Linked DNA regions of Homo sapiens: region 1 is linked to region 2. Evidence: promoter capture Hi-C in human tissues and cell types (Jung and others, 2019). All regions are on one chromosome and are shown on one strand. The core of a region is centred on a gene start or on the middle of the fragment in contact, and the rest is flanking DNA. Distances in the headings are between cores, read along the strand shown.

What was found. The method cuts DNA at HindIII sites, captures the fragments that hold promoters and counts their contacts. A contact is called where the count stands out against the background at its distance.
Region 1: a contact is called between a fragment that was not itself captured here and the fragment with the promoter of PSMD11 in region 2, in 2 of the 25 tissues and cell types used here (mesendoderm cells and thymus).

The regions. Positions count from the first base shown.
Region 1 is chr17:32,371,452-32,378,037 of GRCh38, reverse strand. ZNF207 (zinc finger protein 207) reads right to left here. Exons shown (of 12, transcript NM_001098507.2): 12 at 1-6,586. Among named protein-coding and RNA genes, the nearest start is that of ZNF207, 25 kb to the right of the region's middle. The HindIII fragment of the contact is 3,452 bases long and covers 2,970-6,421 here.
Region 2 is chr17:32,441,736-32,448,036 of GRCh38, reverse strand. PSMD11 (proteasome 26S subunit, non-ATPase 11) reads right to left here and starts at 3,527. Exons shown (of 14, transcript NM_002815.4): 1 at 3,423-3,527; 2 at 991-1,092. The coding sequence starts at 3,513. RefSeq lists enhancers at 3,438-3,517, 3,131-3,746 and a silencer at 3,638-3,807. The HindIII fragment of the contact is 9,367 bases long and covers 1-6,301 here.

The sequences.
Region 1 (6,586 bases), core at 3,446-5,945, 71 kb after region 2:
TTATATGGATATGTTTGAAAAAAATAGGAACATCAGGTACTTACAGATTAAACTAACCTGTACTGGCAGGGCTGTGGGATTTTTCTTCTCTACCAGTAAGTAGCAAATGCTGAAATTCTGCTGCTAGTTAACAAAAACACAAATTGTATTAAACTGAGGAGTTCAATCCATAGTTTAAAAAGTCAATGTGCATTAAATTTCCTCAGAGCCTGATACTAATACATTTAAAACTTTTCCCTAGTTTTTTTTTTTTTTAAACAGAAGTTACCTTATATTGGCTATTTAGAATGAGCTAATTAACATTGAAAATCTCTTGGACACATCTCAATTTTACTATGTATTCCAGTATGTGAACTGTGATAGAAATTTTGATTACTCTAAAAAGGGGATGGGCATATATCTTAAACATGTGGGAATTTCTAAATTTAAACGAATATGTAGACATACCCCCAAAGACAAGCAATTTTTAAAAGTTTTTAATTCAACTTTTGTAAAAATTGATTTTGTCACATCAGAGATTCTCAATTTTAAAAACATGTACTGAGAAGCAAATTCTATTGTTTCTCTTTGAATAAGCGAACAGGTAAAAGGGGGCTTTGCTCAATAACTAGATGCTCTGTATTTTTTCTAACTCAGACTTACAGTAACTGTAGTAACTCTTCCCTTGCTCCACTTGGGTACTTAAGCAGCCTCATTTTATTAGTAAAGACTCGGATATGATGGTGCAAATCTTTTTTTTTTCACCTCTGTGACTGCTAAACTATTTATGAATAAAATTTTAATAAGAAGCTACATTAAAATACTATGGTGAGACCTCACTAACAAATGCAAATCATGAGCAAGAATGCCATTACTTTTCAATATATTTAAGGTTCTTAAGTCAAACAATACTACCCAGTGTTCTCTCCCAAATAATCACTATTGGTCCATGTGTAGTAAACTGGGAAAATATCATTCTTCATTTTTATCCAAGTTGGCCATCAATGAATTTCACTGTTAGTTCCTCAGACTTAACCAATGGTGAAGGAACACAGATTCCACCATAATAGTAAAATGCAAACCAACCAACCCAGACACTAACAATGTCAGAGGGCTTAGAAAATGCCAATAAAGTACTTCACCTTTTTACAAACACAGCACACATTACTGAAGCTGTGCCAGATTACTACCTTATAGACCATTACATCATTTAGAATTAATGGGTGGGTTCCAAGTAATCAACCATTAAGACAGTTTACTCACATGTACCTCCTCTGAGGTTATTTTGATAAAAATTAAAACATAAACATAAACATTCTCATAACGGATTGTATGCCTCTTAAAGAACCTAACCATCAAAGTTTCCATCTAATTAGCCAGTCTAGATTTATAATAGTGTTCAATTTGCTTCAAATAGGAATAGTTCAAATTAGTTTCAGCGAAGACCTACCTTGTTTGGGCTACAAATTTCTGCCTCAATATGACTACTACTTCCGCTTAGTAAAATAAAGACATTTTCCCCTGAGAATACATGAGACTAACTGAACAGATTTAAAGAGAGATGATTCAGATTTCTCAAACTAATTTAGTTCCAAACTATTATTTTCCAGAGTTAAGAAAATGAAAAGCTTTTCAAGACTAAAATATTATGCAAAAATGTATAGAGCCAAGAGCAAGAAAAATATACTTATTAAAAGCAATTATCTTACTGAAGAATTTTTTTAATGTTACTTTAAAACGTAATCTATTTTCTAACAAAAATGCCAGGTAAAAAAATAAAGATAGATGTTTTAGGGCTTAAACACTTGGAAAAGGTGGATATATTTAAAGTTATTGGGAAGCGCAAACTGAAGTCCTACTTTCTCCATTTCCTACATATTGGTTTGAATTAGATCCATAATAGGGTGCCTAAGAGCTTAAGATAGTAGTTTAGAAAACTCAGCACTAATCACAAAATTAATGAATATCCATTATGTACATGACCATACATCAAGTGCTTATTTTGCCAAGAAACATCACACAGAAAAGTCAGATGATTTCTTTGCTATAAAAACAAAAGGTTATTATTTAAATGATTCAATGACAGAAATTAAAATACTGAGAAAGGGTTTCTAAAAAGGAGTAAACTTTACTGTCATGAGACAGTTAGCATAAGTGGAATTGGGGGAATGTTTACTTATAAAAATCTGCCCTATAGTCAAATAGCCTTATAATTGAATCCCCTTTTAAAGGACTTTTACATAAAAGTTACAATGAAGAGCAAACAAATTTCAATTTGGAATAACGCAGAAAGATTACTCAATATTAGGTCAATAATGACAACCTTTTAAAAAAGACATTCATGTCTGTATAATTTTAGAGTATCTACTTCTAGGGTACATGTCTATTTTCATCAGCTTATTCAAACAAAATTTTGACTCAGTTAAAGTGGTGACTTCACAATTTTCTTTCATTTGCCAAGTTTTACTAGTGGATGTTACAGACACCTAAAAACTACATAATTCTCAAAATCTTATTTGTCTGAGTCACAGAACTACAAAAAAAAAGGAACTATCTTAGTTATCTATAGATATTACCTTCAACAGATTATGACATTACTAAATCCTTCCCACCCCCAGTACTCAACCAGATAAGAGCCTGTATTTCCAGCACACTTTTTTCAATTATCACCATTAGAATTAAGATAAGCAACTTAGAAAGATTTCAGCATATTGCAGGATGGTAGGTAATAGAGAAAACAGATCTCCAATTAAGGACTCTTAAATGTTGATTACTGAGGTTATAAAATAGTCCAATGGGATATTTTGTCATGGAAGCAACAAAATTCTTTAAATATTAAAATCCTATTAGTTATAGTGAAAAACATGTTATTTAACAAGTCAAAATTTACAATTCATTTAATGCATATTTTTTCTTTATGCTTCCAAGAATGAAAACCATATACAAACAATTCCAGGTTTGCTAAATGCTATACTGCTTGTTCATTGTTACTGCTCAGAGTAAACTGCTATCTGGATAGAATCGTGGCTCAAACACAAGAAACAAAAGTAATTCAGGTTTGTTTTTGGCCTCTCTTCCAATTCCCTAATTATTCCCTACAACAAACACACGCACACAACTTTTCTCACCAAATAAAAGCAAATTTTAGTTGGAAACAAATGTGGATACTTTTCACATGTGCGTAAAACACTGTTCAGTGAGGCTGAAAATGAACCTCAAAATAATCACTCCAAAACCATAGTTTAACATACTTTACCACAGGATCAGGTATCAAATTTCAGTTTCGATACCTGAAAATTAGTAATCCATCCATGCTGAAAGGTCTGTAACACCCAAATTCTGTTGTTATATCAACTATATGGTCTATACCCCCACATACACAAGCACACACATAGACACCACCTTCCCACCTTTACAGGGCTCTACATTAACATTTGCTCTAATGTGGTGAGGCTTGAAAATATTTTAAAATTAAGCATTTCCAGATGACCTTTTAGCCTTAACATTCAATGCGTAAGTTTGTGATTAAGAATGCAGATTTTGGCCAAGCGCGGTGGCCCACGCCTGTAATCCCAGCACTTTGGGAGGCCGAGGCAGGGGGATCGCAAAGTCAGGAGATCGAGACCATCCTGGCTAACACGGTGAAACCCCGTCTCTACTAAAAATACAAAAAATTAGCCGGGTGTGGTGGCAAGCACCTGTAGTCCCAGCTACTCGGGAGGCTGAGACAGGAGAATCGCTTGAATCCAGGAGGTGGAGGTTGTAGTGAGCTGAGATCGTGCTACTGCACTCTGGCCTGGGTGACACAGCGAGACAGTCTCAAAAAAAAAAAAAAAAAAAAAAAAAGAATGCAGATTTTGGCCAGGCGCGGTGGCTCACACCTGCTACTCCAGCACTCTGGGAGGCTGAGATGGGTGGATCACCTGAGGTCAGGAGTTTGAGACCAGCCTGGCCAACACGGCAAAACCCCATCCCTACTGAAAAATATTGAAAAAATAGCCAGATGTGGTGGCGGGAGCCTATAATCCCAGCTACTCGGGAGGCTGAGGCAGGAGAATCACTTGAATCCGGGAGGCAGAGGTTGCAGTGAACCGAGATCGCACCACTGCACTCCATCCTGGGTGATAAGAGTGAAACTCCGTCTCAAAAAAGAGAAGGCACATTTCAGTATCCAGTGGCATTTCCAATGATTAAACTTATCCTTGAGGTTAAATTTAATAGTTTATGGAGAAAATAAAACCAGTAAGATTTTCCTAGAAGTGAAAGTAAAAAACTTGAATGAAACATTTCTTGCCTCCAATCAAAAATATCAAATTTTGTCAATTTATTGAAGTTCAATATAGGAACACAAGCTTTACTGAAGCTGTTAATTATGTAACACACAGCAAATTACATAAAATTGCATATGAAATACTTATGTTTATTAACACCACAGTCAAACGTGAATATTAATATAGAGCCTTCTCTGCCAAAAGAGTATAAAAATCCTAAGTTTAATTAAATTTAGGGGCCTTCACCAAACTTGCTGCAAGTTTGGGGACATAAATATCCAACAGCCATAAAGCTGTGAAAGCCCCTATAAGGAATAAAATAAATCCCACTTGCCTCAGACTGAACAGGGCAACACTGAGACTCAGCCTCAGCCTGTCCTATGGCAGGGCTATAGGAAGAAGAAAATTTTAATTTTAGAAAAACAGTTCCCAATTAATTTAAAAGACATGCATTAAAATTTTTTTTTTTAAAAATCCCAATGATCAAGCAAGCAAAAGGAGCAGCTTTGTTTTTAACTATTGTCCACTACAATTCCACTCTGAGCCCGTACTTCTTTTTGTTGGGGAATCCCCCTCCCCAATTAATTAAGTTTAATTAAGGTGAGTCTAAGTTCAAAATGTAACTTAGTGGAATAGGAGTACAGTAGGAATATTTTATTCATACCTAATGGCAAATGTGTGAGACACTACTAAAATACTAAGTATTCAAATCAAGTAATTCCAGCAGCCACTCAAAAATTAATCCTTACCTGCTGTGGTCTTGTTAAACAGTATGAAAACTTATACAACAGAAACTAGTGCCAGACAAAATGTTTTCTTGTTTTTCTAAAAGGGGTGGATGTAAGGTAGAGCCAAAGTTGCCAGCCCTACTAACCTTACAGCTTCCTTAATTATGACAATCACAATGCCTGCCTGAATTATCAAGTCCCAAAAGTTGTCTTCTGTGAGGGCAGTTGGCATCCACTTTGACTCAACTTCATCTACTACTTAAGGAAGGTTGAGTCAGAGTTAATTATATGAATATAATTTGCTCCACTCATAATTCAACCACACTATGGACCCCAGAAGCATTTAGAAAAAAGGTATTTTCTAGAAGCTTAATTACGTTTGGATGCATGCAAAAATTACACTTCAAATATATTAAATGGGTACACCACCTCTGAGCCTATAGCTACAAACTCAGGAACTCATGAGCTTAAGTTTTATCTGCCAATGCCTAACACTTTCAATTAATTTTTAATTAGAATTCTATCCCATATTTAAAAGTTCCATTTTTGCCCATCAGACCTATACAGAGAGCAAAAAACCTTGCTACAAAGTATCAACCTTCTTTGCATAAAATGCAAATAAAGCTTCACATAATTTCTGAAACAGGTCTACTAACCCTATTGCAGTTTGTCAATAACCGTATACATGAAATTCCTGAGAATTTGGGAGAGCACCCCTTACTTAATTATTCTAAATTTAATCACAGCATTTTTTTTTTTTGAGACGGAGTCTCAATCTGTCGTCCAGGCTAGAGTGCAGTGGTGTGATCTCCGCTCACTGCAAGCTATGCCTCCCGGGTTCACGCCATTCTCCTGCCTCGGTCTCCAGAGTAGTTGGGACTACAGGCATCCGCAACTACGCCCAGCTAATTTTTTGTATTTTTAGTAGAAACGGGGTTTCACCGTGTTAGCCAGGATGGTCTCCATCTCCTGACCTCATGATCCACCCGCCTGGGCCTCCCAAAGTGCTGGGATTACAGGCGTGAGCCACTGCGCCCGGCCTATCACACCATTTTTATCTTAAAGACTTTCAACACAAGTTTTCCTTCAGCAGTATATTAAGTGTGCTGCCAAATCAAAGCAGCATGTATTAATTTTGAAACCATTTAGGTAAGCAGAGGTTCAGAGGGGAAAGTGGTTTGGGACTTGGCTGCTGGCAGAAAGAAATACATTACTGGCAAAATACCTGTTTTATTTTCAAACTATGAAAATTTTTGTACCACTATGGTACCACAAGCACAGGAGCCAAAATCATTGAAGCCAGATAATCAGATATTTTAATTTATTTTTTGACAGAGTCTCGCTCTGTTGCCCAGGCTGGAGTGAACATAGCTCACCGCAGCCTCGGAAGGAGGAAGAACCTCCTTCCTCAGCCTCTTGAGCAGCTGGGACCACAGACACACACTAACGCGCCTGGCTAATTTTTAAATGTTTTGTACAGATGGGGTTTTGCCATGTTGGCCAGGCTGGTCTCAAACTCCTGGACTCAAGCAATCCTCCCATCTCAGCCTTCCAGAGGGCTGGGATTACAGGCGTGAGCCACTGCACCCAGCCAATGTGAGTTAAAAT
Region 2 (6,301 bases), core at 2,278-4,777:
TGGTGGCGCGTGCCTGTAATTCCAGCTATTCCGGAGGCTGAGGAAGGAGAATCGCTTGAACCCAGGAGGCGGAGGTTGCAGTGAGCCAAGATCGCACCACTGCACTCCAACCCGGGTGACACAGCAAGACCCCGTCTCAAAAAAAAAAAAAGAAAAAGAAAAAAAAAATCTTTAGTTCTCAAGTTGAAGAAGTTGTGCTAACTAACCCCCATCATTCTCTTGAACAACATAATTTTAGGGAAAATAATTCATGAGGTCACTTACCAGATCTTAATCCAATCTAATCAAATAAGCTCTAAATTCACTTTAAACTTGACAAAAATCACCCATTTAAGTTTAAACAGACTTCTCTCTAAATACTATTACCACTTTACTGGTAAAAGGTCCTTCCTGATCAAAAGGACTCCCTTCTCATTCCAAGGACACACCCATCATCAGAATATTATGTCAAATCTAATCAGTCAATGGTTCAATTACAACTAGAATGTTTGAGCAATGATGTGCACAAAGTCCTAGGTATGAATGCAGAAGTCTTGGGAAGGCTCCATTTAATGTCTTATTCATTCTCATTCTGAATCTATCAAAAAAAAATGACAGTGAGTCACTTGGATACAAAATCCTTTGTCATTTTTAAATCAGGCGCTTAAAGTTGTTATCTATCTTAAATACATCAGAGTTGCTCAGTGAAATTATTGAAGACTGTTGCTGCCTCTATGTAAGGGAATACAGTGAGAATTCAAAAACCAGAAACAAATCAGAAATCACTATATCCCAACAAAAATAAGATTGTCTCTCATTTGCAAAACTAAACTACCAGGAAAGAAGTGAGTTTAAAGGCCACTTAATTGCCTGCTAAAAAACTGAAGCTCAACAAGTTGCCAAGAAAATAAAGCTGAATTCAGTTTGTGGATCAGTCCCATGATTCTTCACTCCAACAAAAGACAGGAATTTCACTGAGCATTTCAGATACAATCCATGTGTAGCACTTACCTGCAGCTTGTCCAGTCTTTGCCAGGAGAGATCCCAGTTCCAGGATGCTCTGCTCTTTGACTTGCACTGCCTCTTCATCGTTTTCCTGAATGTCACGCTTCACTGGGAGAGGAAAATGCAAACCCTCTTAAAATTCTGACCAAAAAATGAAGACTGAGGGAAATTTCACCCTCATAAGATCCATTACAAACTCAAACATATTTACCAAAAGACAAATTCTAGAGTTAAAAAAAAAAAAAAAACTCTAAGCCAGGAAAAAAAAAAGATCATATATACGTAGAATATGCTCCATGTAAATCATAAAAAAAGGATTCTTCTCTTTGATTTTAAATGTGCCTTTTCATTCTACCCAGCAGAATTTTGCTTACCTACATACACTAAGTTTCTGTTGTGGTCACTTGGTTAAAGTGAAATTAAAACAAAACAAATCCTTCATACTTATGGTGCCAAGATCTGTTCCAGTCACTATTTTATGGGAAGATATTAAACATGCCTGTGCGTTTATGCCACAAACTAAAATCAATTGACCAAGTTACTGATGCCTGTAAGTCAAAAGCGTTTCAATAAACTTTAGGTCTGTGCAAAGCCTCAGCTGATGGGTGTGTTAGGGATAAGCAGGTCTATAAAGCCATTCAAGAAAAACAACTCTATCAAAGCCCCAGATCCTGCACAGCTACACTTAGGGGAGACTGCTGCTTTTTAATGCATTGAGGTCTGTTAAAATAACTTTGTGCTATCTGTCCTATTTTCAACAGTTAATAACTATTTTAACATTCAAACATGGAATAGCCTCTCCAAGTTTGTAGTGATCATCACTAGTTACTACTACTCTTACAAAGCATCATGACTTGACAAAAACCATGATGGAGTCCAGAAAAAGTAAGGCCGTCAACCACCATGACTCAAGCTTGCTCTAACAGTGAAGCTTTCAGGGAACTCTCCCCTAGAATAGTGGGCCAACAGGAAATACTCTAATTGTAATATTTGACGTAATTTCTACTTTATGAAAGAAAAAATATTAGACACTAGACACAGACTATTAAAATTCATGCTCCTCACATTAGTTCTAAATAATAGTGTGTACTCAGAATAAAATATCCATGTAACGGTGATTGAGATGACTCTGGTTCCGTAGAAGTAACTGACCTAAGATCAGAACTTTTAAAATGAAACACCTTTTACCAATATCATTCAAAGATACACCTTGACGCCCACTTCCTCTCCTTCTCTAGTATCCCCAATGATAAAGTATCAAGATCTTGTCATTGTCCTTTCTCCGTGCAGGTCTGGAATACCAAAATTCAACACACTAAGTCAAATGCCAACATCTTGCAAGTCCCACATACAGGTGCATTCTCATACTACTTGTTGAGCCAATTCAGATCTTCCCAAACTACACTACAAAGATGCCATTACATGTGCAGTGAAGAGCTAGTCCAAGCCCTAATTGAATCCTTTATGAGTGAACATTAACGTCTTCTTCTGTCGTAATAAATTTCTGTTCACACTTGAATCCCAACAGAAAGCTGCCGGAAGCGACTGGCTGGGATTCCCATTTCAGTTTTCCTGTTGTGTGTAGGTGTAAGACCATCGTTATTACAGCGTTAAGAAATTTTAATTTTTCCGGCAACATGCAGCCGACCCGTTCCAAAGAATTCCCTGAACTCCGCGGCTGACAACTAACTCCCTTAACTCACTTCCAACCCCTACAGGCAGTCTGGAAAGATTAGTCACCTCCTCTAGCCAGGCGGTCCCGCTCCAACACCTCACTCTTACACCCTACACAGAGCAGATGAGCGTCTCGGCCACCTCCACAAACCAAATGCCAATCTGAGGTGTGTGTCACCCCTGAATTTCCCACATTCTGAAAGAGACCCTCCTCTTAGTGGAGCTTTCTGCCGTGGGGCTGAGGAGTAGCAGCTCCCAGCGTCCCGTGGAAGGAAACTCCCAGAGAAGAGCAAGCGCTCGCGCTCCCACCCGGAGCAGGCTGTGCTGATTACAACGGCGGGAAATGCCTGTCCAGAGCTGGTTTCGCCAAGGCCTTTCAAGTAGAGACTCTAGGACCAGTCCGTGACAAGCACGCCGGCCGGCACTGCTCCGGGTCCCAGACCAGCTCGTGCGGGCCAGAGCCGGGGACATGGCTAGGGAGGGATCCCCGGGGGCCCGGCTCGGCCCACTCTCCCACCCTACGCTGAGCCCCCCGTGAGTCAGCAGCCGGCGAGGGGACCCGGGGATTGCCTCAAGCCCTCCCACAAGAGTGAGACCTGGGAGGCTCTGGGGAGCTCCGAGCGGCCTGCGCCCCCGGCCCGGCCCCCCTCACACAGTGAGTCAGCAGCATCAGAGCCGGCTAGCCGGGCCCCTCTCCGCTGCCGCCGACCGACATAAGCCGAGCTGGGCCGGCGGGGCCGGGGAGGCGGCGCGGCGACCTTTACCGATGGAGTGGAGGATGTCGATGGAGGCCTCCCGGTCGGTGCTGAGTAGAGACTGGGCTCTCTGGAACTCCACCACCGCCGCCGCCGCCATCTTACCGCTCTCACACCGTCCCCGGCCGCGGCCGCCGACGCCGGAAACACACACCCGGAAAGCCCGCCCTCGGGTCCCTCCGCCTGTAGCTCCCGTGGCTCCGTTCCCAGAGCACTCCGGGAGTTGTAGTCTCTCCGCCGGGCGCGGGCTGAGGGGTGGGGAGAGCGGGACCGCCTCGCAGGTGGGCTGCAAGCTCCCCAGCGCCTCCTAGCGGGCGGCCGGCGAGGAAAAGAGGCGGTGCCCCGCAGTGGGAGCTCTAGATCGGTCCCCGCCCACCCCAAAAGAGGCTTCTTGATTCCGGCCCCGCTCGCGCACCCCTGAGAGGGGTTCCTGAGTACTGGGCTAGGTATTGAGTCAAAGCTGCGTGGCTTTCTTTGCGGCTTCCACGATTTAACCATTCATTCGGGACGATAAGTGACCTTATAAAGTGCTCGCTATGTGGCAAAGAATAGCACCATTCGAATGCGTTCCAGTGTCTGACGCCTGTGCGCCGCACACACGCTTTCCAGGCTTGACTCCCGCAGAACGCTGGCCGGCAGGTGGGCAAACCCGCCAGGACCGGAGAAAACTGTCCTCACGCGCCCATTTAACCTTGGGACAGTGCTGGACGTGATGAAGTGAAACATCACCTTTGCTCCATTCACGCCACAAATACCTCTTGGGAATCCACAGAAGCCTCACCCAGCTCCCCAGCTCAAAGAAAAAAAAAAAAAAAGGAAGGAAGGAAGGGAGGGAGGGAGGGACGGAGGAAGGAAAAAATTGAATTATTCTTCCCAATATCTTCAGCCCCTTCAACTAAAGTCACAGATATCAGTGAAGACGTCGTGTGGACGGAAAAATGACATTCTATGAGACCACTTAGGGTTAAACTTAAGAAAGGTGCTAAAAGGATACAAAGACAATTCAGTATTAAGGAAGACCTTTCTCTAGGTGATGACGATCCAAAAATGGAATGTGCTGTCCCATAAAAGGAGGCAAAAAGGGGACTAACATTGCACACCCTCCTCTGTAAGTGGATTAGGCCATTTATATTCCTCTATCTCCTTTTATTCTCCCAACAATGTTCTGTAAAGCAGATATTTACTCCCCTTTAATATGTGAGGAAACAGGGGTTTGAGTTATTTGGTGAAGCTCAAATCGTGATTGGGAGAGATAAGAGCTGCCGGTTAGGGAATGCCTTCCTAATTCCTGGGTGTGTTCACGTGAAAAGTAGTTGACATCTCATCAGGTTGTTGTAAACAGGATTCATGACTTTGATGGAGAGTTGGATTAAATGGCTTCTAGCAAGGCGCGGTGGCTCATGCCTGTAATCCCAGCACTTTGGGAGGGCGAGGTGGGCATATCGCTTGAGCCCAGGAGTTTGAGACTAGCCTGGGCAACATAGACCCCCGACTCTACTAAAAATACAAAAATTATCCGGGCATGGTGGCGCACGCCTGTAGTCTCAGCTACTTGGGAGGCTGAGGTGGGAGGCTTTAGAAGAAATCATAGGAGAGGATAGAGTGCTGGCCTCACTACAAAGAGGGAGTACCATAAAACAGTGGACCCCAACATTTTTGGCACCAGGGACCAGTTTTGTGGAAGACAATTTTTCCACGGATGTGAGGAGGGGGGATGGTTTTGGGATGAAACCGTTCCACCTCAGATCATCAGGCATTAGATTCTCATAAGGAGCAGGCAACCTAAATCCCTGGCATGCTCAGTTCACAATAGGGTTTGCCTCCTATGAGAATATAATGCTGCAGCTGATCTGACAGGGGGCGGAGCTCAGGCAGTAATGCTGGCTCCCCAGCCGCTCACCTCCTGCTGTGAGGCCTGATTCCTAACAGGCCACTGACCAGTAGTGGTCCTTGGCCCAGGGTTGGGGACCCCCACTGTAAAAGACTAGGAGTGTCTGCCAGATCTTTCTCCCAAGCTAGTGAGTCTTGCTGACTGTGGAAACTTATGAGCCCATCCCTGTGTGATCATCATGGTGAAAGTTTTGAGATGAACTAGACATGTCTCTTGAGGAGTTTGGCATGTGTGCACATTCATGAAGATGGGCACCCACTTCTAGCCTGCAGAATTCTGAATTAGGGAAGCTGGCTGGCACACTCTACAATAGGACAGGGAGAAAAGGCAACAATAGGGTAGCTTCCACTCCCTGTGTTTGACATGGCAAGGTTCTTATGAGCCAAGAGGATGCTGAAAAGGTAGATCATCCGGGACCTTCTTAAAGGAACCTATTCAGTAGGACCGTATGCTAGTGTAAGGAGACCCAGAAATAAGTTGATGGAAGTGTGGACTTCAGGAGGCAGTCACTGATGGGAGTCTTGAGATCCACAGGTAGATCCTCCAAAGAACACAAGAATACATAAATGCTCCCAACGAGAAAGAACCAGCACCTGGGTCTCTGCCTCTGACGTCATCAGTCATGTAAGAGAAGAGACCTTGACCTCTTTTAATTCCTCCTACTTCTCTGCTTTCACCAAAACCTCCTCCACCCTGGAGGAAACCCAGAAACAGCAGAGTGAGAGGGTGGAGAATGAAAAGAGTGAAACTGCAGACCAAACACAAATTTTCAACTGCCTGAGACTTAGAGACAGGGGAAAAGCTTTAAGTTAGATATGAAATTAAAGTTTTGCTTTAGGCTAGACTGGACTTTCAATCATTATAAATGGCATAAAAGAGATTTAGGGGCCAGGTGCAGTGGTTCATGCCTGTAATCTCAGCACTTTGGGAGGCTGAGGCGGGCGGATCACGAGGTCAGGAGTTTGAGACCAGCCTGGCCAACATGGCAAAACCCCGT